2 separate regions of the Homo sapiens genome follow, and region 1 is linked to region 2. The links are contacts of gene promoters, found by promoter capture Hi-C in blood cells and fetal thymus (Javierre and others, 2016). All regions are on one chromosome and are shown on one strand. Each heading gives the region's core, a stretch centred on a gene start or on the middle of the fragment in contact. The rest is flanking DNA. Distances are from core to core; before and after follow the strand shown. Region 1 holds the start of TMEM167B (transmembrane protein 167B). Region 2 holds the start of PSMA5 (proteasome 20S subunit alpha 5).

What was found. The method cuts DNA at HindIII sites, captures the fragments that hold promoters and counts their contacts. A CHiCAGO score of 5 or more calls a contact.
Region 1: a contact is called between a fragment that was not itself captured here and the fragment with the promoter of PSMA5 in region 2, in 1 of 17 cell types (fetal thymus). The highest score is 6.0, in fetal thymus.

The regions. Positions count from the first base shown.
Region 1 is chr1:109,090,314-109,093,013 of GRCh38, reverse strand. It overlaps TMEM167B (transmembrane protein 167B), which reads right to left and starts at 2,250. Exons shown (of 3, transcript NM_020141.4): 1 at 2,132-2,250; 2 at 1-124. The coding sequence starts at 2,141. It also overlaps the pseudogene NDUFB3P1. RefSeq lists an enhancer at 2,417-2,616. The HindIII fragment of the contact is 772 bases long and covers 904-1,675 here.
Region 2 is chr1:109,424,999-109,427,698 of GRCh38, reverse strand. It overlaps PSMA5 (proteasome 20S subunit alpha 5), which reads left to right and starts at 1,251. Exons shown (of 9, transcript NM_002790.4): 1 at 1,251-1,397. The coding sequence starts at 1,369. RefSeq lists enhancers at 691-750, 257-1,188. The HindIII fragment of the contact is 5,034 bases long and covers 1-2,700 here.

The DNA of each region.
Region 1 (2,700 bases), core at 40-2,539, 330 kb after region 2:
AACACACCCCAAACACCCTTCTTCTCTGATAGCAGCCAGGTTTTGAGACGAGGTACTTTCTTGAAGTAGGCACAGGTGCAAACAAAGAGCAAACCAAACACCAGAATCCCATCCAAGGAGTACACTGTTAAATAAAGAAGAAAAGAAAACCTTAGGTACTGATCTAGCGTCGGACCTGTGATCCCGCCTGAGAACTCTAAGGAAGATAGTGTGTGACATAATAACAAAATAATAACCTCAACAGGCAGTACTGACACTTGACAAGGGGGAGCCAGGATCCTGGGACTAACACGATTATTTTACTGTTCCCAAAAATTGCTTGTAGGAGGAAGGGGGATCAATTGAGCCCAGGAGTTCGAGGCTGCAATGAACTACGATCATGCCACTGCACTGTAGCCTGAGCAACAGAGTGAGACCCCAACTCAAAAAAAAATTTTTTTTTTTACATCCCCTTTACTAAAATGTCACTGGTCCTTCCCCTCACCTTTCAAGAAGTAGAAATCCTGGGCAGAAATTAGCATCCCAGGAATGACTAGTGTTGGCAATAGATTGAGACATATGAATCCTTAGAGACTCAGCACAGAGAATTTAACATGTTCTTGTTATAAATCACTCATATGATAAAGGAGAGCTAGATATGTAGCCAAAACTGTCAGATGTGCAACTGTTGGTGAAGAATATGTTAAGGCAAAAAATTAAGCTTAATGAAAGTTGCAAGAGTAAGAATCCACATGACTACAATTTTCCTATCATTATCTTACACTTTATGGATGATACTCTTAACAAACCGAATTTCTGCCAGAATAATAACAGATTTTTCTAAAACAAAGAAAAAGTATCTAAGGCTTCAACATAGAAAGCTTTAACTTCTTAGCTCTGTTTCTTAAATACATAAACCAAGCTTATTTCTTGTACAGGGAAGCACAATGAATCACCTAATTGCAAAAAACAAGAAGATATTGGACCACAAAATGGGGGAAGAATGACTAAAATTTATTCAGCAACTACCGTGTCAAACTGCTGTCTTACTTCCTGGTTCAGATTCTGTCTTCCTCTGGGTAAATTCCCTTTTCTTACTGTGCCTAGTATCCTGAGACCTCTGACTTCCCAGGAAGCTCCAAATGAATATTATATATAACCAGTGTCTGCCAGTTCTAGATCACACTACCTCTCTTCCTCCAGTAAAACTGTCTCACAGCTAAGCTGTCACTAAGAAAGGGTCCAGCAAATTAATACATACACTAAGGTTTTCTGAGGAACTATACCTTCACGTGCTACCCCTTTTCTCTCATAAGTTTCTGCAGACAATGCCAAAATTCACAAGGAGGTTAAATTCGAGTCTTCAGTGCCAGGTCTATGGACAAAGTACTTTTGAGAAATGCTTTCCGGAGCCCCTCAAATCATCGTAATGCCTAAAAGGCTTTCTCTTCTCCTTTCCTGTAAGGTTGACACTAAAAATCATGAAGGCCCTCCTTCCTGTCCTCCTCTGGAATTCAGAATTCATAAAGTGTTTGAAGAGGCCTGGAAAATTAGGTCAGATAAACTGCCTCATCATCTAGAAGAGGCAGTGTCTAAATCCACCCTTTGCAACACTAGTCAGGGTCTCCACGTGGGATCACCCCGCCAGGACTTTAAAATCAGAAATCTTTCCGGTATTTTTCCGTAAGAAGAAGCTTTTGTGGGGTCTACATTCACCAGCAACCCCAAAAGTGTGGGACTTGATATTCTATGTCATTTATTGGCCCTCTCAACAAAACTACGGTCCGAAAGCATGAGAACGCAGGGAGCTGGGAGGAGGAGCCTCTCTCTTCCCCGGGTTTAAATAGCAGTAGTACCTCTGGGACTGACCTCTCCAAGGGCCAGAAAGAACTAAGAAAAAGAAAAGGGAAAGCAAAGCATAGGGATAGATAACTCGAGGTGTGAGCATAAGAGGCACTGGGGGTCCTAGATGAATATGGGAAGGGGGAACCCGTAGAGGAGTATAGGGGTACAGAAGTTAGGGGCGTCGAGAGGCCAAGGGGGGCCGGGCTGGGAGGGGGCGGGGAGAACGGCCACGTCAGTCCCGGCCCCGCCCGCCACGTTTTCCCTTCGTCCTTCACTCCCACCCTCCGCTCAGGGCATCAGTTCTCACCGTTCGTCATGGCGGCTGGCCCTGGACCTGGGTAGGGGGTCCGGGTTCAGTGGTAATAGCGGCGGAGATGGGGGAGCGCCCGCTTGACACTTCCCGATCCGGGCCGAGGTGACTGGAAGAAGCCGTAGTACGCAGGAGCAAGGGCCGAGAGGCGAGCGCCGAACGCTATCAGGAGTGGCTAGCCGATTGTCGAGCTCGGGAAACTGCGTGTTTACGTAGGGTAAGAAGAACGCTATCTCGAAGGCTTCGTACTTGGCCGTGGTAACTAAGTCTTTTCTGCGTGCCCCTGCGGGCGTAGGGCTGGGGCTGGCCCGCGTCAGTGTGTTTGAAAAGGTAAAGGCTTGTAGTTTTGTAGTTTATTTTGCGCCGTGGCGGCTGCTGTGTGTAAGCAGCAGCCTACCTATGAGGTTTTCATCGTCCTGGGCTTCCACTTGAGAGAACTCCAGCACCGCGGGTGAAGAAGCCGCACCTGCGGCCTCCGTGACTGCCCTTGAGCTGCTCTTCCTTACTCCGGATGGAAATCTAGTCAGACTGCGTCTGAACGTTGCAAATGAAATGAGGAACCTTGT
Region 2 (2,700 bases), core at 2-2,501:
TTTCCAGCATATACTGCCTGATAAATGATTTCTTTCCCCCGACTCCAGCTTTAAGGTGTAAGTGACAAATAGAAATTGTTCATGTTTATGGTATACAACGTGACGTTTTGATATACATATATATACACACACACACTGCAAATAATTAAATGAAGCTAATCAACATAATCCATCATCTCACATACTTTCCTGTGGTGAGAACATTTAAGGTGTACCCTCTTCACAATTTCAAGTACACAATATATGATTATTAACTATAGAACTCATCCACCTTCTCTGACTGAAACTTTGTATCATTTGACCAACATTTCCCTATATTCCCCACCCCCGTGCCAAGACTTCTTACTTGCCTTTCTTGAACAAATACTTGAATTACAGTGTTATTACGAAGCTGCAAAGTTGCTCCTCAAGCAACTTATTGAAGGGAAGCAAGAAGCGTCGAAAAAGAAAGCGCTTTTTTTTTTTTTTTTTTTTTCGGATAGGGTTTGGCTGTTGCCCAGGCTGGAGTGCAATAGCACGATCTGGGCTCAAAGAAAACACTTATTTTTCACAAACAACAGAAAAAGCAGTGAATATTTTGAAGTCTGGATCCTGAACTCTAGGTTATTTAGGTCTGAAACCTGTACTAGGGGGAGGGGTGCAAGAAAGAGTTGATAAAATTACCTTAACCATGTGGAAACTTTAAGACTTTCTTACATACTAACCCCTCGCCCCCCACTTTTCTCAATAAACGAGCCAAACTGGCTGAAACGAAGGGACTCGTCCGCGGCGCCGGCTCAGACCCACTGTAGCCGACTCATTACCGCCCAAAGTCCTGGAGCCCTCGACCGGGCATGGAGAACACCGTGGAGGAACCCTAAGAGAGGGAATCCTGCGAAGAGAAGTCAGGTGGTGGCCTTGCCGGAAACGGGACCAAAGTCCTCTAGCTGGGATTACGGGAGCCGGCGAGGGACCTATTATGTCAGGGTTCAGACAACCCAGCTCTGCATGCAAGCCTTTCCAATTGCCAGTCTTGGGGCGGGCTCACATCTTCTCTACAAGGCGAACTCACTACACGCCTTGGGTGCCTATCGTCCCTAGCAACCACCCGCGATTTAAGGCGGAAGTACCTCCCTGGTCCTCCTCCTCCTCCGGACCAACCAAGCCCTCGTGAGGAAGCGCGTTGGCCCAATCACCTAGGCGGGAACTACTACCAGCCAATAGGAAGCAGGCACAGGAGGGCGGGCTAAAGAGGTCGCGGTCGCACGCGCAGTTGGTCCTTAGTACTGCGGCCGTGTGGGTGAGTTGGCTGCCGGTGAGTTGGGTGCCGGTGGAGTCGTGTTGGTCCTCAGAATCCCCGCGTAGCCGCTGCCTCCTCCTACCCTCGCCATGTTTCTTACCCGGTCTGAGTACGACAGGTCCGTGCAGCTGGGGGACGTCGGGTGGGAATTATGGGTGGGCAGGCCCGGGACCTGGCCGCGCGGCCTGGGTTCTGCCGTGTCATGGGGCTCCCCAGGAACCCGAGACTGGCCGGACCTGGGGATGTTATGCCCTCCTCAGGCGCCCGCCGTCCTTCCCCAAGCTAGACCACATCGGCGGCACTTGTCCTACCGCTGAGTCACCCCTGGGTCCTAACTCGGTGCGGAAGCGAGAAGCTCCGGCTGGTGCTTGGTAAAGAAGGCGTGAGGAGCCGGAACTCCTACCTTGAACCCGGAGAAGGCCAAGGGTCACTCTTTGCTCCGTTCATCTTTTCGTGCCTAGTATGACTGCCTTGAACAAACAAACAAAAAGTTAAACGTGCTTCCTGGAAGAAAAAGCAACTGGTTTGTAGTAGGGCATGCTGCGGTGTATAGTTTCTTCAGAAGCGCGAAGGCAGTCGTAGCTTTGGCTGGATATATTGTCTGGAGTCTGATTTTATAGGAACTGGAATTTAGAATGGTTTTCAAGAGATTTCTCATCATGCCGATTCCAATTGACCAAAATTTTTTCTGACTTTTTAAAAGTTTAAAGCAAGTTTTAAAAAACTTTTGTGGTATGAAAATGTTCACAATATTAAGTTGTACATATATATGCTGTAGACATTTTTACTTTCAGTTTCTGTTTTCGTCAGTTAAGTTTTTACATAGCTACTCTTTTTTAAAGTCAGGGAAGGCAGACATTTTCTTTGTACTGAGTGGTATGAGATGCTGCATTTCCTGTCAAGTATATGCTGATCCTGTCGAAGTTTTACCACCTGCAGTTACCACTTTTTCATCTTTTTTACTGACTCGTAGAAGATGTGTGTGAAGTTTTGACATATTTCCCCACTGTCCTATAAAGTGACTTTGTTGGTCGATATTTAACTTCCAGAACATTGAAGAGAATCATCTTCGGGTGACATAATTTTGAGTTAGGGTGTGTATGATAGAAATTGTTATGCTTATCAGAAGGCATTTATTAAATTTTGTGGCCATTTACTTAACATATGTATTGACTGCTTTGTTACTTATTTTTCTGTCTTCCCAAGACGGCCTAAAATACATCCCTTTTTATTCTCTTAGTTAATGTGCTTGAGTGCTTGCTGTGAACAAGGCACTGTTCTAGGTGCTGGTGCTACAGCAATGGACAAAATCAAGCTCCTTGCTCGCATATAGGAGACTCTTTTGAGACAGTCTCGCTCTGTGGCCCAGGCTGGAGTGCAGTGACGTGATCTTGGCTCACTGCAACCTCCCCCTCCTGGGT